7 separate regions of the Homo sapiens genome follow, and regions 1, 2, 3, 4, 5 and 7 are each linked to region 6. The links are contacts of gene promoters, found by promoter capture Hi-C in blood cells and fetal thymus (Javierre and others, 2016). All regions are on one chromosome and are shown on one strand. Each heading gives the region's core, a stretch centred on a gene start or on the middle of the fragment in contact. The rest is flanking DNA. Distances are from core to core; before and after follow the strand shown. Region 1 has its middle 56 kb from the start of LINC02552. Region 2 overlaps LOC105369466 (a long non-coding RNA gene). Region 3 has its middle 170 kb from the start of CASP4. Region 4 overlaps CWF19L2 (CWF19 like cell cycle control factor 2). Region 5 has its middle 7.6 kb from the start of ALKBH8. Region 6 holds the start of MSANTD4 (Myb/SANT DNA binding domain containing 4 with coiled-coils). Region 7 has its middle 2.6 kb from the start of LINC02552.

Evidence for each region. The method cuts DNA at HindIII sites, captures the fragments that hold promoters and counts their contacts. A CHiCAGO score of 5 or more calls a contact.
Region 1: a contact is called between a fragment that was not itself captured here and the fragment with the promoter of MSANTD4 in region 6, in 6 of 17 cell types (activated CD4 T cells, M1 macrophages, M0 macrophages and 3 more). The highest score is 8.8, in activated CD4 T cells.
Region 2: a contact is called between a fragment that was not itself captured here and the fragment with the promoter of MSANTD4 in region 6, in 1 of 17 cell types (neutrophils). The highest score is 5.9, in neutrophils.
Region 3: a contact is called between a fragment that was not itself captured here and the fragment with the promoter of MSANTD4 in region 6, in 2 of 17 cell types (monocytes and total B cells). The highest score is 7.5, in monocytes.
Region 4: a contact is called between a fragment that was not itself captured here and the fragment with the promoter of MSANTD4 in region 6, in 1 of 17 cell types (naive B cells). The highest score is 6.6, in naive B cells.
Region 5: a fragment that was not itself captured here is called in contact with the fragment with the promoter of MSANTD4 in region 6 in 1 of 17 cell types (naive CD8 T cells); the score reaches 6.9 in naive CD8 T cells.
Region 7: a contact is called between a fragment that was not itself captured here and the fragment with the promoter of MSANTD4 in region 6, in 3 of 17 cell types (M2 macrophages, activated CD4 T cells and naive CD8 T cells). The highest score is 8.4, in M2 macrophages.

Annotation. Positions count from the first base shown.
Region 1 is chr11:104,663,603-104,666,402 of GRCh38, forward strand. No RefSeq gene overlaps it. Among named protein-coding and RNA genes, the nearest start is that of LINC02552, 56 kb to the left of the region's middle. The HindIII fragment of the contact is 942 bases long and covers 782-1,723 here.
Region 2 is chr11:104,680,677-104,683,436 of GRCh38, forward strand. All of the region lies in intron 1 of LOC105369466 (a long non-coding RNA gene), which reads left to right. Among named protein-coding and RNA genes, the nearest start is that of LINC02552, 73 kb to the left of the region's middle. The HindIII fragment of the contact is 4,581 bases long and covers 1-2,760 here.
Region 3 is chr11:104,792,708-104,795,501 of GRCh38, forward strand. No RefSeq gene overlaps it. Among named protein-coding and RNA genes, the nearest start is that of CASP4, 170 kb to the right of the region's middle. The HindIII fragment of the contact is 2,886 bases long and covers 32-2,794 here.
Region 4 is chr11:107,451,838-107,454,688 of GRCh38, forward strand. It overlaps CWF19L2 (CWF19 like cell cycle control factor 2), which reads right to left. Exons shown (of 18, transcript NM_152434.3): 3 at 2,613-2,735. Among named protein-coding and RNA genes, the nearest start is that of CWF19L2, 4.6 kb to the right of the region's middle. The HindIII fragment of the contact is 4,540 bases long and covers 1-2,851 here.
Region 5 is chr11:107,571,937-107,574,695 of GRCh38, forward strand. No RefSeq gene overlaps it. Among named protein-coding and RNA genes, the nearest start is that of ALKBH8, 7.6 kb to the left of the region's middle. The HindIII fragment of the contact is 413 bases long and covers 1,114-1,526 here.
Region 6 is chr11:106,020,521-106,023,533 of GRCh38, forward strand. MSANTD4 (Myb/SANT DNA binding domain containing 4 with coiled-coils) reads right to left here and starts at 1,720. Exons shown (of 3, transcript NM_032424.3): 1 at 442-1,720. RefSeq lists enhancers at 1,242-1,361, 2,192-2,261 and a silencer at 1,692-1,801. The HindIII fragment of the contact is 3,155 bases long and covers 515-3,013 here.
Region 7 is chr11:104,610,434-104,613,324 of GRCh38, forward strand. No RefSeq gene overlaps it. Among named protein-coding and RNA genes, the nearest start is that of LINC02552, 2.6 kb to the left of the region's middle. The HindIII fragment of the contact is 3,436 bases long and covers 1-2,891 here.

The sequences.
Region 1 (2,800 bases), core at 3-2,502, 1.4 Mb before region 6:
AGAAGAGCTTGTGAATGTGAGTAAAGTACCCCTGTGTCTGTGGCTCCCAGAGAGCCACATGATGATGTGACATCATGCTCTTAATGAGCCTCTTCCTGCCCTTTAGGAATCTGGGGAACATGGAGCTGAATCCTTACTGGTTTGTTGCCCAACTGGCATGTCTTTCTCTAGTGTTCTGCCAAGTAATCCTGGGTTCATGTCCTGTCTCATCCAGGGAACTCCTATCTCATCAGATTTTAGTCTATTTGATTGTCATGTAACATCAGTTTTCTGATGGGTTCATGAAAACTTGTGAAATTTTTTGTTTACCTGTGGTCAGAATAAAAGGAATGCCTCTTCCAGTTTCCTCCATCCTCCATGGGAGTTTAGCTGTGCTGAGGTTTTTAATGAGACCACATTACAATTTCTGATGCTCTCAGGCACAATTGCCTTTAAATAAAGTCTTGAGGTAAATGAGCTACTCAGTGAAGGTGAACTTTGGCAGAAACGTCTGAAATTTTTAAATGCAAATTTATCTCTTCCATTTTAACTATTGTGGAGTCCTGAAGAAATATCCTCTGACGTTAACTTTGAGCTTTGTAAAATAATATAAAATGATAAGGAAAGAAGAATTGCTACTATGATCATTGTATATTCAAATCATGGACAGAGCTGGATATTAAAATGAATACGTTTGTACTAATTAACCAGTAGGCTTTTTTCACAAAGCTAGAGAGGAAAACCCATCCTTTTACTGAACTAAATTTGTTGCCTTTTCCTCAAGTTTTCAGTTGCATATGAAAGCTTACTTTTCGTTTCCTTCTATTATTGTTTACCAGATTAGGCATCCATGCTTTGCTGGTGAACTTACACATATTCCTTAAGACACAAACTATTTTTTTTAATCTTACCTTTTTCCTTAACAGAAGCATAGTGGCAGATGTTGTGAGTTATCTGGTATGGTTTGAACATTTGTCTCCACCAAATCTCACATTAAAATTTGTTCCCCAAAGTTGGAGATGGGTCCTGGTGAAAGGTGTTTGGGTCGTGGGGGTGGATCCCCACTTTTCCTCTCTCTTGCCATGTGCTCTTTACACACTGGCTGTCCTTCACCTTGTGCCATGAACAGAAGCAGTCGGAGACCCTCATCAGAAGCAGGTGCTGGTGCCGTGGTTCCTGTATAGTCAGCAGAATCATGAGCCAAATAAACCTCTTTTCGTTATAAATTACCCAGATTTAGGCTTTCTTGCATAGCAACATAAACAGAGGAAGGGATGATCTATGCTTTATTCTCTCTGCCTTTCTTTCTTGATAGGAGAATTCACAATTTTACTTAGTGTTTAATTTTCTCTAAATACTCCAAGACACCTCTTGGATGCAGATCAATCTCTCTAATTGGGAATATGAGGGTCCCCACTATCTATTTCCATCTCAGCCCTCCAATCTCGTTGCTCATCATTCCCTGACTCAAATACCAAAAGGCTAGTGGTACCCTTTCCAAACCATGCTGTTTCTCTTTTTAATGTCTTGCCTCATAACACATGCATTTTCTGCAAAGTCTACTCCTTACCCATTATTAAACATATTTTAAATTTCAGATCTGAAGGCACCTCCTCCAGGAAGACTTGCCTGATTCTCCATGGGCTGTTATGTGCACCTTGAATATACCCTCTTTATCATCCTTGTTGTAACACACATTATGGATTAATCATCTTTTTTTTTCTATCTCTTTCTTTGTTTACTAAGCTTCTTGAATAAAAGGATTGTCTCATTCACCATTATGTTTTTTGCACAGTGCCTGACACGTTCAATATATTTTTCACTTTTGATGTTTCACTTAAAGGCTAGTGCTTTTCCTGAGTGACAAGTCAATGAATTGAGAGATTTAAAAAAAGAAGCCACAGGATGAGAGAAAATATTTGCAAAACACATACCTGAAAAAGGACTATTATCCAAAATGTACAAAGAAGTCTTAAAATTCAACAATAGTAAGCAAACAACCCAATAAATAAATGGGCAAAAGATCTGAAGAGACATCTCATCAAAGAAGATAAGCAGATGGCAAGCAAAACAAAGATAAATAGATGTTCCACATTATATGCCATTAGGAAACTGAAAATTCAAACAACGAGACACCTCTACACACCTATTAAAATGACTTAAATTCAGAACACTGACAACACCAAATACTGACAAGAAGGAAGCGCGAAAGGAAATTCTACTCATTGCTGGTGATTGCAAAATAGTACAGCTGCTTTGGAAGACAGTTTGGCAGTTTCTTACAAAGCTAAACAGAGTTTTACCACATGATCCAGCAATTCACTCTGTGATATTTACCCAAATGACTTAAAATTTATGCCCACACAGTGACCTGCATATGAACATTTATAGCAGCTGTATTTATAATTGCCAAAAAAATGGAAGCAACCAAGCTGTCTTTCAATAAGTGAATGAATAAATAGCCTGTTATATATACAGGCAATGGACTATTATTTAGCACTAAAGAGAAAGGAGTTATCAAGCCATAGAAGGACATAGATAAAACGTAAGTGTCTATTACCAAGTGAAAGAAGGCAATGTGAAAGCTCTACATACTATATGATTGTAACTATGTGATATTCTGGGAAAGAGAAAACTGTATAGAGACAGTAAAAAAATAAAATAAAAAAGTGATTGCCTGGTGTGTGGGGGTACAGGGAGAGAAGGAGGCAGAAATAAATAGGTGGAACACAGAGCATTAGAGGGAGAGTGAAATTATTCTCTGTGGTATTATAAGGGTGGATACATGTCATTATACATTTGTCAAAACCCATAGAATGTA
Region 2 (2,760 bases), core at 180-2,679, 1.3 Mb before region 6:
ATTGTCTTTAGTGCTTTTACATCTGGAGAAATTCTTGAACTTTGTTTTTGTTCCTTGATCTGAACTTTTAGAAGAATGTCTTTTATTTTCTTTTTGGAAGAATATTCCTTAGTTTAGAGTTGCTTATCGTAATTAGATTATGAGGAAAACTCATATCAGGAGCATGGTGTCAGTTCATCCCAATATCGGCCATGCTAGCTTTGGTCATTTTAGTTATAATGATATTACCACACTAACAAAAATGTGGGAAGATGTTTTGATGTAATAGAAATTTCTGATTCTCATCAAATTTCCTGGTACAAGTTTCAGCATCAATTGACATATTTTAAATTCCACTGTTTTTTCTATATTTATTAGTTGACATCCTATTATAAGGAAGAGCTTTCCCTTCCCCTCTATAAATTAATTAATTTTTATATCAGTATGGACTCGATTTTTATTTTACTCAACAGTTTATAATTTATTACCTCATTACTTATTATATTGCCTAAATTATCCCAGATTTGTTCGGTGGCAGTCCTTTCAAGACGGTTTCAGTGTCTTTTTGCCATGACCCTGGATTCTTTGTGCACTATCTTACTACCTTACTTTTTTGCATAAGATGATCCAGGCTCATCTAAAACTTTTCCTTCCCCAGCCCTGGAATCAGGCACTTCTTCAAGGAGCTTTGGTTCTATTTCATGTTGAATGGTGTGTATGAAACAATATCTGATTCCGAAGTGTGCTCATTACTATGGGTGTGCTTCTGAGCCTTCTGATATGAGAGAACTAACATCTAGAGTTATTTTATACCTTCCTATATATCCATAATTTTGTAATGATATATAGTGATAGTTCTAATTTTGATTCAACAGGAGTGTGTACATTGTAGTCATTGCTATTTCAATATTTCTCCCTCCTCAACAGTGAGGAAATTGACTTCCATTATTCTCAATGCATTTGTCCATTTACCCACAGGGTTTAGCTTTTCTAACCCATACCACTGTGAAAAACAAACTTGCTAAAAAAAATCAATATTTATATACAACTAGTTTTATGAGGCAAAATTGACATACAGTGAAATGCACATCTTAAATTTATAATTCAGTAAATTTTTTAGTTAGAATTTTAGAGTTTAGAGGTAAATTGCACCTCTGTAGCCCACATCCCTGCCAAAATACAGAATAATTTTATCACTCAGAAAGATGCCTTATATATTTTGTGACTCATTTCCTCCTAAAAGTAATTAATCTTCTAATTTCCCATCATAGAGTAGTTTTGCCTATATTAGAATATTATATATATGAGATCAAATAACATGTGTTCTTTTATGACTAACTTCTTTCATTCAACATATTGACTGTGAGGTTCACTGATGTAATTGTACATATCAGTACATCATTTTTTACTTCATTAAAATACTGAGTTTTATTTCACATGTATATTTTTGTCTCCCCACCATTTCCATGTCTGACCACTGTTACTACTATATTTTATCATAACATTCCATACAGACATAAAACCAAGCAAAGGGTGGAGTTCCATTTTTAAAAGCTAAACAGGCATTTTGGACAACACATTCTTGGCAATGGAACCTGGACAATATTGATCAAACACTATAGGGAAAGTTCTCACTCCGCATTATAAAAAGGACAGCCAGATATCTACTGTTGTAGAAATGAAATAAGACAGAAAAAAATTAACAAATTGTTTAAACTATTTTCTTAAGGAGACTTCCTCCACTGCCAGAGATCTTGAACAACCTCCTATTCCCAGTCATCTGGAAGCAATTCTTCACATAATTGATGAACTTGCCTTCCACTTTGGGAAGAGAACCACCCTTTTCTATATACTTGCTTGCATTTTTGTTTTAATGTCTTCTACAAAACTAGGACCTTTTGGTGTTTCAGGAGTTTTTTCCTGTTTTATTGTACATTGTTCTTTTTATTCCTGAATAGTATTTCATAGAATGAATATACTAATTTTTTGTTTATTTTATCTATGTTTATAGGCATTTATATTTGCTGGTTAATGTGAATTAAGCTGCCATGAATTGTATATAAGTTTTTTTTTTTCCTTTTTAAGACAGGATTTTACTCTGTAGCCCAGGCTGGAGTGCAGTGGCACAATCATGGCTCACTGCAGCCTTAGCCTCCTAGTCTCAAGCAATCCTCCCACCTCAACTTCCCAAGTAGAGTAACTGGGACCACATGCATGCATTACCATCCCCAGCTAATTTTTTTTTTTTTTTTTTTTTGAGAGACAGAGTCCGTCTATGTTGCCCAAGCTGGTCTTAAATCCTATACTCAAGTGATCCTCCCACCTCAGCCCCAAATTGCTGGAATTACAGGTGTAAGCCCCTACACCTGGTCTTATATAAGTTTTTTGTGAACAATTTTGTATTTCCCTGTGTAAGTATCTATACATGTAATTATTGGGTCATAATCAGATAAATATTTATAAGAAGCTACCATTTCCCATAGTGGTTGTATTATTTTATACTATTACCAGTAATTATGGAAATCCTGATTTTAATTTTTCTAGTGTATGTGCAGTGGCACCATGTACTTTTAATTTAAATTTCCCTGAAAACTAATAATGTTGAGAACTTCTTTATTTATTAGTGACTATTTTTTATATCTTTCTTTGTGCAGTATTTGTTCAAGTCTTTGTCTTTTTCTTATTTCTTTTCCAAATTGTAGGAATAGTTTATATTCTAGATTAAAGTTTTTTTGAGATATGACTGAACAATATTCTCTCCAAGTCTTTGCCTTGTCTGTT
Region 3 (2,794 bases), core at 225-2,724, 1.2 Mb before region 6:
CATGGAGGAATTTCAGAGAAGCTGCCACCAAAGCTTCCATACCTAAGTGAGTGTTTCTAAGGAGGAAGCCTGAAAGCTGTAAGCAAAACTCTACTTCTGTGCTCTGCCAGTTGCCACAGACACACTTATATATGCTTTCATCTGCTGATAGCAAATAATGCTGTGGCATAAGAGAAAATATATATTTGGTCTCTACACCTGTCTCTTGACATAGAGCTCCTAAAACCCCTGTAGTTCCCTGAGTGATAGGGTGCTAAGAGCATCCTTTGTTCAATTTGACCTTTGACCCTGGTTTGTGACATAGAGCTCCTTAACTTCTTGGAATTTCCCGGGTGATAAAAATATCTTTTGTTCTAATGAGGCAACACTTGGTAGGGTCCTGGACAGCTTCAAGTTGGGGGCTGGTTGCCAGGAAGACCAAGCCATGATTAGAAACTTGAAACTTTCAGCCTCAGAGACGCTGGGAATTGAGTTAGTAATCAATCATGCCTATGTGATGAAGCCTCCATAACAATCCCTCAACTACAGGTTCAGAGAACTTCTGGGCATTGAATATATTGATGTGCTTGGAGAGTGTCACATCACAACTCCTTGGGCACAGAAGCTCCTGTGCTCAGGAACCCTCAGTCCCCATTCTATGTACATACCTCTTCATCTGGCTGTTCATCTGTATTCTTTCTAATATCCTTTACAATACAGTGGTAAATTTAAGTAAATATTTGCTTGAGTTTTGTGAGCTGTTTTAGCAAATTATTTGACATGAGGAGGGTGAGAAGTTCTGATTTATAACTGGTTGGTCAGAAGTATAGGTGACAACCTGGATCTTGTGATTGGCATTTGAAGAGGTAAACAGACTTGTGGGACTGAGCCCTTAATCTCTTGGATCTGCACTAACTCCAAGTAGTTGCAGAATTAAACTGTAGGACATCAAGTTGGTATCTGTACAGTTGGTGAGTCAGTTGGTGCGGGAAAACTTGATAAACATTTGGTGTCAGAAATGTTCTGTGGGTAAAAATAGGTTTCCTTTAAATGGCTTCTCCTTCTCCCCAGTCTATCCAATTTTACCTGAGTGCCTTCCACTGAAGAATTAAAATAGAAAGCTATTAGAAAGGGTATATGGTAAATAATATTTTAAGGCTTTATACTACCACAATCAAACAACAGGTCTAGAAGAGTAGGCAAGATACTGATTATCAACAAACACAACTGGCACACTTTCTGAGTCTTCTGAAACCTAGAGAAATCATCTTTCATGGTGCGAACATGATTTACTGTTGATATGTCACTAATAGGGAGTAAAAAATTTGAAAAAAAATTAATATGTTGGGGTGTTTGATATTAACTATAGGAAGTCAAAAAGACTCACAATTTCCCCTTTGCATTTTAAATTTTTTAAAAAATTATACTTATTTTTAAAATTATGGATCAATATTTACAAATGTGGAAAGACTGATAAGAGAAAATTCCAATGTCGCATCTTCCAATTTCAGTCTTACATCTGTACACCCCACCTTCTTCCACCTCTTCCTTAAGGATAATCGATACAAATGTAAAATATATGTACTTTAATCAATAGATATTTATTAGGGATATCTAAAATGTAAGACTTTTTAAACATAACCACAATATTGCTGTTTATTATGCCTAAAACATGTGTAAAGTTAATTGTTTAATAACACCAAATATTTTGGCAGTGTTTAAGTATCTCTATTTGATAATTTTTAAAAGAATCAAGATCTTGATAAAATCTATACATTGCATTTGGATGATAAATTGCAAGAGTCTCCTTTACATAGTCTCTCTCTCTCTCTCTCTCTCCCTCCCCCACACACACACCCCTCTCTCTCTCTCTCTCTAGAAGTTTATTTATTGACTATTCAGGTGGTTATGCACAGTATGGATTTGGTTGATTTCATCCCTGTGGTATTATTTAACATGTTTCTCTGTGCCATGTTACTGTTAAGAGCCTTGTCCAGATTCTGAAATGTGGTGCTGTGTACTAACACCAGGAGGCACATAATGTCTAGCTTTTTCTCCTTTGTGTTTTTAGCTGTTATTAGGTCATTATTTTTCTTGAAGTTGCAAAATGCTGACATTCTGACTCTACTATTCTTCGTTTAGAATCTGGAGGAGAATTTTCACAACTTAATTAATTGGTTATCCTTAAGTACAGTTCACAATGGAAAAGGTGGATAGACTCTTGATTTTTTTTCTTTATGTATCAGTCCTCAAATAGTTTTCTGGGACCTCAGATGTGGGCAATGTGTACTCAGTTCTAACACAATATTTAAGAGTTCTGTAACACTGAAAAAATTATGTTTCCTCTCTGTTGATATATAAATCTGGTGGAGATGTTTGAATAATTAGAAATAATTCACACAAGAAAATGCCTAGCTGACACTTTTGCATACAGTAAAAACTCAATCCATTATTATAATCATTACTGTTTGTTTAAATACTCTATATGCAATGTTTACACATATGGCTTGAGGAAATAGGAGAAATATTGAACTATGTATTATATAAATATATATAACATTATATATAACATATATGATATATAATACATATATATTATCTTATGTATGTTATATATAATATATATGCACAGAGAAAAAGAGCACAGTAGAGTTACCAAAAGAAAAAATGTTTATTTGGGGAATGTGCTCTAAAACACTGGATTATTTTTATATTACATGTAAACAATAGCCATACTTCAAGCCCCTCTGCCATTTTTACTTGCCGTCTTCTCAGTGAAGAGATTTCAAAAATGCCAGTTTTTCAGACAGGAGAG
Region 4 (2,851 bases), core at 20-2,519, 1.4 Mb after region 6:
TAACACTTATAGATGCAAAAAAAGCACTTACCAAATTCAATACTCATTCAAGATACAAACTCTCAGAAAACTAGAAATAAAATGTCATTTCCTTAATCTGAAAAGGCATACATGAAAGTCCCACAGCAGACATCATGCTTAAATGTAAAAACCTGAATGCTTTGCACCTAAGATAAGGAAAAAGGCAATCATGTCCACTCTCACCACTTCCATTCAACACTATTTTTAAGTCCTAGCTACTGAAATAAGGCAACAACAATTAACAAATAAAACAGGCACAGAGACTGAAAAGAAAAAAGTAAAAGTCTTTTTCACACATGACATACCATTTACCTAGAAATCCTAAGAAATCTACTAAAAAAGCTACTAACACTAGTATTAGTAATTTTAACATGGTGATAAGAGGCAAGGTGAATATATCAAAAGCAGGTTTTTTTTCACTTTTTTCTTTTTTTTCTGATCCTAATGTTTCAAGTCACTTCTATAATTACATACTAGCTGTAAACACATTTAATTTAAAATTCCACTCACGATAGCACTTCCAGAAAACAAAATGGAAAAAAAATAACAAACGACATGTAAGATCTCTACACTAAAAATTTCAGAACATTGTGAGAAAAATCAAAGACATAAATGGATAGAGAGATGTACCAAGTGCATAATGGATTGAAAGAATATTTTAACATATCTATCTCCCTAAATTCCTTCCAATAGGGAAAATTCAGCCTTTTCAACAAATGATGCTAGAAAAACTGGAAATCCACGTGGGAAAAAAATAAACTGACACTACACAACATAAATAAAAATTATTAATGGATTATAAATAAGCAAAAAAGCCAAAGCTATAAAACTTCTAGGGAAAAAAAATAGGAGGCCAAGCATGGTGGCTCACACCCGTAATCCCAGCACTTTGGAAGGCTGAGGCAGGAGATCACTAGAGCCCAGGAGTTCGAGACCAGCCTCGACAATATAGTAAGACTCCATGTCTACAAAAACAACTTTTCTGTACTACATCTGTAGTCATAGCTAATTGGGCTGCTAAGGCAGCAGGATTGCTTGAGCCCAGGAGTTTGAGGCTGCAATGAGCCATGATGGTGCCACTGCACTCCAGTCTGTGCAACATAGTGAGGCTCCATCTCTAAAAACAAACAAAAAACAAAAAAATTTAATAATAACATAAACATAGGAGAAATCACAATCTTGAGGTGCGCAAAAATTAGGATACCAGAAGCACTAAGAAAAAATGATGAAAAACAAAAAAGAAAATATTTAATAAATCAGATTTCACAAAGACATGGAATGCCCTATGGGGACTTAAAATGATGCTCTACATCCTTGTTCTTCAGAGAAATATCACACGAGACATTACACAGTAGAATAGCTAAAAATTACTAAGACTGACAATACCAAGTACTAGCAAGGATGTGGAATTCCTTGGTGACTCCTAGTGCTAAACTTGCCTCAGAGCCAATGGACAGGTGGTTGGGGGGCAACTGGTGCAGCTAAGGGAGTGCTTACACCACCTCTCCCCCAACCCAAGGCTGCACAATGTGCAGCTCCAAAAGAGACCCTGTCCTTCTGCTTGAGGAGAGGAGAGAGAAGAGTAAATACAGGACTCCATCTTGCATCTTGAATACCAGCTCAGCCATAGCTGGTAACCACTAAAGAGCCCTTAGGCCCTGAATAACCAGCACCAATAATCGGGTACTACACTGTGGCCTTCACTGTGTATCTGAGACTTGCTGGATTCAGGTGAGACTCAGCACATTCCCAGCTGTGGTGGCTATGGGGAGAGCCTCCTTCTGCTTGAGAAAAGTAAAGGGGGCTCTGTCTTGCGCCTTAGGTACCAGCTCAGCCACAGGGTGGTAGAACACCAAGAGGGATCTTGGGGTCTCCAGCCCCACGCCTTGGCTCTTGGATAGCATTTCTGGATCTGCCCTGGCCCAGGGGGTGCCCACTGCCCTGAAGGGTGAGTCCCAGGCCGGGCAGCTGACTGAAGAGTTCTTGGGCCTTAAGGGAACATCAGTGGTAGCCTGCCAGTACTACCTGTGGGTCTATGGTGGTGGCTACAGGGTGAGGCCCCTCTGCCTGTGAAAAGGGAAGAGTGGGAAGGACTGCCATTCATAGGTTGAATGCCAGCTCAGCCACAGTTCAATAGAACACCAGGTACAAGTCTAAGGTTTTTGACGCCAGTACCTGGGTCCCTGATGGCACCTCTGGACCCACCCTCAGGCCTGGGGGAACTTGCCACCCTGAAGGGAAAGACGCAGGCCTGGCTGGCTTCATCACCTGCTGATTGCAGAGCCCCAGGGCCTTGAGTGAACACCAGCTGTAGCCAGGTAATTGTTACAGCAGGCCTTGGGCAAGATCCAGTGCTGTGCTTAGCAATAATTCCCAAATCATATCCCTATCCTCTTAGCCTTTCTCTGAAATTCAAGATCAACATTTCCAATATTTTCTGGACATCTCTAAGTAGATGTATCCCAGATATTTTCATATCATAACTAGTAATATATTTTTTACGTTTTCTTGTATTTTAACTTCCCATAAGTTACACATTCAAATAAAATGTTCTCAAATAGCTGCTTTGATTAATTTTAGTACATACTTACTGATGAGCTATCAGATGACTCATTGTTTTTTTCATATTTCTGTTTCTTGCTCTTTTTTTTCTTTTCTTTCTTTGCTTTTTTTGAATGCTTGTCTTTTTTCTTCTTTTTCTTCACAGAGTGTTCCTACAATCATTTTGAACAGGCAAGAAAATAATTTAATTTCATCTTAATTTAAAAGGATGTATTCTGAGAGAAAAAAAATAAACCACATTCTAAAAAACTTTCAATCTCTGATGAAA
Region 5 (2,759 bases), core at 70-2,569, 1.6 Mb after region 6:
TAAAGCATCCAAAACTAGAATTCTTACAGCTATTGTATTCTAGTTCAAGAGTCTTCAATCAGAAAAAAATTGAAAATGGCCCCAATAGTCCTTGAAAATTGTTACATTTTTACTGTAGTTCCAAACTATGAAACTGTTTGACTGCAGTTTCAAACTCAATTCCTATGGTTATGAGGTTTCTAACCTCGCCCTTCTCCCTACAGCCCCTTTCCCCACCATCTGTTTCTGGCTACTTTCTAGTTTTTCTTCCAGTTGTCCCCTGTGGCAACTGTACTAGTTTTGCTTGTTTTTCTATTTATGGTTTAAAAAAAAAAAGTTTTATTTCTCAGTCTTTCCTCTCATTTACTCTTCTGCTACTTATTTTATTCCTCCTGGAAAAATGACAAATTTGTATCAAGTTTTCTTTCCAAAGTTGTGTCTTCTCTGCTGCTTCCCTGGTTGCTGGCTTCTTGAAACTTCAGCAAGAATGCATTATGTAAAACCATTTGATGTTCACTGTGACATTTCAGGACTGAATACATTATTCACGCTATGGTGATAAAAATTCAATGAAAAGTTTGCAGTTTTATAAGTCATATGGTGAAAGTATTCCCTGTACAGTAATTAGAGGCAAAAGGTAACCAAGAAAAAAAACAGAGGAGAAGGAAAAGGGTCAGCCTTTAATTTATAATACAAAACATAAAACTCAGCTTGGAGAATTCATTTATTATTATTATTTTTTTTTTTTGGTCATTTGCAAAGCATACAATTTTAGCTACGAAGCATTAACCTCCCCCAAATGGTCTATTTATTCTTGAGGCTAAAGGCCTGCTTACTTTGCAGAATAATTTTCTTTTCTACACAGATTTTTTAAATAGATGAGAATAAAGAACTAGCAGGCAACTCAGGGTGCAGGAAAATCTTTGGGGTGGCTAGAGGTGTGGGATTTGTGGATTTTAAAAGGTTATGATAAAATAAAACAAAATCTTTTAAAAATGTTTCCCTTAAATGTAGAAGAAAAAAGTATATTTTAAAAATGTATAAACATTTCATTTAAAAATGTCTTGCCACATTGATGGCTTCATTCTATCATTAATTTCTCAAAGACACAAAGATATTTGCCCAGAGAGGGCAAGCTTCATTATTAACTATATTTGTGATCGCTTCTAGTTTGGGGAGTAGACTTCTTGTCAGATCTGATTAGATAGTCTCAGCTGTTAGGTTGGGACTGAGAGCTCATACTAGGAGCATTAATTTTGCTATTTTCTGTTGGTTATTTGTGCTTGAATTATTGTCTATATTCATCTTCACTGTAGGGAATTCAGAGTTTTCTAACCCACTTGTCCATTTTGCAAAAAATAGTTTTTGGATTACATAATCCAAAAATCCATTTATCAGGCACCACAAAAAAATAATGTCTCGCTTAAATCAAAAGAGGGAGGATGCCAGAGGCAGCTGTCCTGCCTGTGAGCTCTCACTCCTCTCCTCTTCTAGAGCACCTCTCATAAAGTCTGTGACATGTAACATCAGACATTCACACCTAATGAAGCTTCCAGGATATTAAATGTGAATAGAGATTAATTTGTTTTAGATAAACATATAAATGGAATTTCTAGAATATTCTTCTAAATCCCACAAGCCATACACACTTCACTTTAGAGGCCACTGCACTAGGGCATGTTCCTCAAAGGCTGGTTCTTAGACTACTTGCATCAGAATCACTGAAGTGCTTGGTTAAGTGGTCTCCAACCCCACTAGACATAACGAGTCAACTTAAAGCACATATAAATTTTAATTCTCTGAACACCAGTTGGTTACAGTGTGTGCTCCAAAATCTCTGGGGCCAGGGCCCAGTAACCTGCATGTTTAACAAGCAATTTTGCTACTTTTGCAAGTGTTCAACCACTGAGGAAAAAGATTGTATGTTATTTGTCAACATAGACCTCTTTAAAAATCATCCCCAGAGTGAGAAGCTGCCAGATTTCTAGTATATTTGGAATTCTCATTTCAAGGGAAGTATTTTAATTTTATAAGGTGCAAGGACCAAGAAGCAGATGATTCAAATTTCAGATTATTAAATTATTAAAGAATAATAGATTATGTTTTATAATTTGACAAAAGTTTTTAAAAAATTTTTAATAAAAAATAAAAACAACTCTTTTTGGCATCTCTTATATCCCATTTTACAAATGTAACAACTGAGACTTAAAGACAAAATGTATGAGCTGTTTAAATATAAATTTTTTTATTTTTATTTTTGTATTTTTTTGAGATGGAGTCTTGCTTTGTTGCCAGGCTGGAGTGCAGTGATGCAGTCTCGGCTCACTGCAACCTCTGCCTCCTGGGTTCAAGTGATTCTCCTGCCTCAGCCTCCCAAGTAGCTGGGACTACAGGCATGCGCCACCATGCCCAACTAATTTTTTTGTAATTTTTAGTAGAGATGGGTTTCACCATATTGGCCAGGATGGTCTTGATCTTCTGACTTCATGATCCGCCTGCTTTGGCCCCCCAAAGTGCTGGGATTTAAATATAAAATATTTTAAAGAGTGATTTACATCCATGTCTGTTATCGCATGAGTAAAAGAGCTAGCTTTTATTTTATTTTATTTTTTATTTTATTTTTTGAGACAAGAGTCTTGCTCTGTCACCCAGGCTGGAGTGCAGTGGCGCAATCTTGGTTCACTGCAACCTCAGCTTCCCAGGTTCAAGCAATTCTCCTGCCTCGGCCTCCTGAGTAGTTGTGATTACAGGTGCCTGCCACCACGCCTGGCTAATTTTTG
Region 6 (3,013 bases), core at 470-2,969:
ATCCACCGTAAGATTTTGCTCTTAGAATCTGAGATCAATTTAGAAATCGCATTGTTGTAAATGTATTGGTACATGGTAGAAATAGCAGTCCTTTTGAAGTACCACTGAGTCAATATATTTTTAAAGTTTGACAGCAGCTGTTGCTATTTGCAGGGCCTATTTTTGACCAACAATTCCTAACTCCATATCTCTAACTTACAAAGTGGTATCCCGTTGTCCTGACTGATCTATTCTGAACTGATGAACTATTTCATTTAATCAAATGGGCTTTAATACATTTTTAACCTGACTGAAATTGATATTGGGATGCACCTTAGATACCCAGTCTTGGCTTAATTGTGTGAAAATCTTCTTCTAAAACCTTGATATTTTCTGATTAAGTGCAAGAAAGTGCCAGCATTGATGCATCTTGAGTTGTTGAAGTTCTGTAGATATGCTTACCTGGATAAAAGCCATTTCCAGAAATGTTTGTCTTCCTGTCCTCTCCTTTATATGCCGGTATCCAAGTAACAGAAGCTTGGGTTTTCTACCATCCATTCATTCCCCAATAATTTCCTCAAAAAATACTTACTGAGCTCCTACTGTGTGAAAGGCACTATTTTTGGTGCTGGGGATATAACACCTCATAAAATGTGAAAATATGTCATTTTAGATGTCAAACACTATCCCTTTTCTATTGCCTGTCATCGCTCTCTTAGCAGAAAGGATTCAACAGCTGCAGTCTCTAAAACTTACAAACCTTCTATGCCCAATCACAGAGAACAGCCATTTTCTAAAATCCCATTTCACAATCGTTCTTCACTAGTTGGAAACAGGAATGAGATGTAGTTCACTTACGTAATCCTTGTGAAGATGATGTACTGCCAATGGCATAATATAACCAGGCAACTTTTTACAAGCACTAAAACTTGAGAATGAAGTTCCTAGATACTTCATGATAAGTCAGAATTAAGAAGTCTGAGAAAAACCAGACGGCAAGTTCCGGATCAAAAAAATTTGAGGGTAAATTAGTTAAGCAGTTCAAGAAGAAAAGCATCACAAATCTACAATATCAAACCCTACCCAAATTCTCTTTAAAGTGTGGCTTTCCCCTCCCCTATATTCTTATAGGGGATTCACTTCCCTGCCAAAAAGTATGTTCTTCTCTAAAACTCGTGGTAGGTGCATAACAAGTATACTTATGGGTCGACGGTTATCAAAGTATCTTTCACCTCCCTCCCGCTGCCTCCTTTGGGACCGTCCAAAAAGAGCCCCTGGGAAGAATCGAGTTAGACTGGGCTCCCGGAAGGCCACCCAGGGGAGCAGGGGCGCGCACCTGCCTCGGCCACAATGATGAGGTTGCTGCTGGTAGGAGTCCCGGTGGGAGTCGGGGCAACCTGGAAGATCTCCTCTCTCTGGGTATTAAATGAGAGTCCCGACTGAGTGCCCAGAAACTTCTGCAGTCTTGTTTCCGTGGCCTGGGCCCTCCCCAGCCTCCCCGGTCAGGCGACAGACGCGCGTGGCACTTCTCCCGAGCGTGCAGTCCCGCTACGTCGCAGCCCTTGGACCAAACCCGGCAGCAAGCGTTGCGCCAATTGCCGCTGACCCCTCCGGGACCCTACCCACTGCGAGGGCACCCACTGGTCACGGAGCCGCCGCTTCCCTGGCCGCCTCCTCCAGCATAGAACCGCTCACCTGCGACCCCGGCGGCACCTCCCCACGGTCGCCCCAAGGGGGGTAGGAAAAAAGATGCTTCATTGATCCCCCGCCCACTAACTGGGCCCGCCCATCTCCCGCCACCCCAATGGCTCATATGGCTGCCGCTCATTTGATGAGTCTCATCCATTGGTTAGAATGGTGTAGCCATTCTGGCTGAGAGCCCGCCCTAGGCCTGGCCTCACAATGGGAATCAAGTCCCAAACCGGTTCCGGGTTAGTGCCCTGGAATTCCGCCCCCTCGTGATTCACCTCCCTGTCTGTGCCCCGTCTGTGGCGCGCAGCTCTGTCAGTCAAGTGGACTCTAGGAAGGGATTGGCCCCTAGAGATCCGCTTGCTGCGCTGTTCCAACTGATTGGGGCACTGGCCGCTGCATCTCCAAACTCGTCTCTTGTCCTTGACCCTCACCTGTTAAAAGGGCAAAGAAGAAGTAGGAAACTTGTGCTGCTCCAGTCGGGTTCTTAGGCCAGCATCACCTTCTCCTCGACCAGCTGCGACCTAATTGGCCTCAGCCATTCCTCTAAGGCTGCCCGTGCCAAAGGTCGCTGGTGACTTCCTTATGGCTAAATCTAGGAGTCACTTCTTAGTCCTTATCATACTATATACTTCCCAGAAGACATTTGAATTTTTTTTTTTTTTTTTTTTTTTTTTTACCATTCTTCACTGTTTCCCCAAATATGTGCTTCTGCTTTCTTCTCTCCCAGTCCTCCTCTATATTCAAGTTTGCAGTTGCTTATTTTCTGCCGTCTCACGTTCAGGTGTTTGTGATTAGTGCACCTTTCTTCCCGCTGCCTCTGTCCAGGCCTCTGTGGACTCACCTGAATTCCATCAGTAGCCTCCTAGCTGGTCTCCCAACATCCTGTCTGCCGGACTGTAGTTCATTCTTCACGTTGTAGCCAAAATGAGCTGCTTAAAGTTTTTTAGTGGAATCTCACCACTGGTGATACAGTACAAACTCCTTATCGAACCTGAAAAATAAGGCACCTACTTTTCCCTCAACCTTCATCTCTCGACATTATACCCACATTTCTTCTTCCTTACCCCATTCCCTTTGCTTCTTTCAGTTCCTGAACTCTACAGTGGCTACTGGGAAGTCAGTTTGCATTGCTGTGTTTCCTCCCTGCTTCTCCGCTATGCCTAGCATTCATTTTTAGAAATTCCTTTCTAAAGGAAGGCTTCCAAAATTATCTCCATTCACCCTCCCTCCACTTCCAAGTATTCCCTTCCCTGTAGGTTTGCCAGATAAAAACAGGACGCTCAGTTAAATTTGAAGTTCAGATAAAAAGCAAATAATTTTTAATCTGTCCAATGGAATATTT
Region 7 (2,891 bases), core at 379-2,878, 1.4 Mb before region 6:
TCTGATAGGGAGGTCTAGCGTATTTCTAATACAGATGCCTACCTCATCTGGTCTTCTTGGAAACAAAAAATTATATTGTGTAGGATAGCCAGAAATCTACCTGCTATATAAAAAGATAAAATTGTAAAATGAAATGGATGTCATGTTTGAACACATGCCATACCATCATTTTTAGGTAGCAGCCTTTCAGGATATAGACAAATATATTTGGGATGGTTTCTGGGTGTATAATCCATTGGAAAAGCTATTTTAATATAAAAATTCACTGTCAAAATATTAATAAACAACTAGTCTTTTTTCAAATCTCTTGTGCAATAAACATAGATTCAAGACAAGTGATTTTTGTCGTGTCATCTTATTTGTAAGACATGTCTCTCTAGTTGGATAGTGATTGGCTTGTTGGTTTGAACGTCAGGAGGTTAAAATCTTAATTTAAATATGCATTAGTATTAAAATATGTTCAAGAGAATGTCACATCAACCTCAACCTCAAAGTACCAATTATGTTGTTTGGGTTCCACATTTGACACTGTTCTGACTAAACTGATATCCCCCGTTCAGAATTTCTAAAAATGCCTCAGATCTCAGTTTCATAATACATTCTATGTAAAGTAGAAACATTAAGAAAAACTGAATTATAGAAACATAATTTCATAGTTTCAAGGACATAGAAGTCAAAGCATACTGCTTGAAGCTAATGAACAATTATAAAGATGTAGAAGCCAGCACATTATTAGCATTAGGTTAGAAGAAATAGACAATTCTGTAACCACTCAACAGGATGGATTCAAAACAAAGAAATTGTTAAGTTTGGAGTTTAATTATAAACACTAATTTGTAACTTGGATGAGAACAGTAACTGTTTTTAATCCTTAGCCAGTGTTTTATTTTTTTCCCTGAAGCCGCTTATTGAAGAAAATAAATGACGCAGGAAAAGCAAGGGGAATAACTAATAACCAACATTTTATGCATATATATGTGTAGAACTTAAGTGAGAAAAAAACTGATGGCACCATAGTCAATTTAAATAAGATAAAACGTATCAATCAAGCAGTCAACCATAAATCTCTAAGAAACAAGAAGCCCATGTACAAATTCACGGAAACATGGTAATTGATCTTTGTTGATAACGTTGAAGCACTTTGTGATTCAGAAAAAAAAACAAATTTGGAAGTTATCGTATACATAATATGGTTTTACACATAATATTATGTATATTTTATTACATTTTATATTTTTAGATATTATTCATACCCAATTTGTGGCAATCCTGTGAATCCGATCATTGGTAAGTTAGAATAGTTCTTTCCAGGTAATTATTTTTAATTTACTATTTTCAAATAATTTTAAACTTTGGTAAAGTGGTTTGCAGAGATAGTTGCTCTGACAGGCTGTAAATCGGTTTAGTAGCTACCTAACAGCATGGAATATAAGAATGTGCTCGGCGTGTTAACTGTATACATCAATTTCTTAAAAGCTAAAATATCTATATAAAAATAAGGTGCTTTAGGAAAAGAAGGCCATTGGAAGACCCATGAAAATGGTAATTGACTTTCTGAACCAGAAAAGTAAAGCGATAACATAAAGGAAAGAAACAAGATGACAAAAGGTATCATAAAGTATTACACTTGAGTGCTCTCAGTTACATAGATGGCGGTTCCTGAATCATCCTGATTTTGTGAAACAAGTGGAAAATGGATAAAAAAAAGACTGCCTCTCTGTAGACTGATAAGATCCCAACTGTTAAGAAGTGAAAAGTTTCCCAACTTATGCAAATGAAGAATTGCAACAAGTTGGCCAGAAAGGTGATGGTATCTATCAGTCAGGGATCTTTCTGCTCTAAGTGATTGACAATTCAACTTAAATTGGATTAATAAAACTGAGGTATTATTGGCTATAATGTAAACAAGTAGTTCAGTTTAATTAGAAACTAAAATTCTAATGATTAGAATTTCTCTTTACACTGCCCCTTGCCCTCTGGGCTAGCTCAGCCCTTTGAATAGTGCCTCTCAACGGATGTACAAGAGCAGCAGCAAGCAGCAACCTTTACATTCTTCTACCACCCACTTCAGGGAGGCTGTTGTCTCACAGGCCTAACAATTGTTCTAAGGATCACACCTCTGGGGCTGGACTAAATTACTGGTCAATATCTGTAGCAATCCTGATGGCCAGGAAAATATAATGTGCCTATTGGCTGAAGCCTGCATACATCCATTGATTAGTGAACTCATCCAATAAATAATCAACGTGTTAGAACCTTTCTTTGACCCCAATCACTGTGGCCAAGAGTGTGAGCTGTGCGAATAAACCCTAGGCAGTACCATCAAAATTGCATAACCAATAATGCGAAACTAGTAGTTTCCCAAAAGCAGATGGGATATTATTTAAAGGAAGGAAAATAATAAATGCTGAAAAGAAAGCAACTCCAGGGAAAAATTCCCAGCTGTTTTCTTGATTCTATACATATATAGAGTGGATAAGTTCAAGGAGGCTGAACAAAGAGAGAGAATGCATTTCAATATTCCTAATGCAGGTTCAGCAAAAAGGGATATATGTAAGGAGCTATTAAGTTCATCAATAAAGTGATCTAGTCTTATAAACAAGGTCATATCAAGTTTTTTGAGTCTGTTCACTGTTAGAGCACTCGTTTATGTATTCTGTAGTACTTAAGGTTGAGGTAGTTTTATATTTAAGTTATATGTAAAGAACTTCTACTCATTCTTTAAGAGTTGGCCAAGTATTCTTTCTGTGAATACTTAACTGAAACCCCTTATATCAGTCACAAGTATACTTCATGCATATACTAATTTGTACACTTTTCAGAGTCTGTTGTAATTATGTTTGTGTTTCTGTCTTCCCTACTTAGCTTTGAGCTGTTAGATGACATGGTTT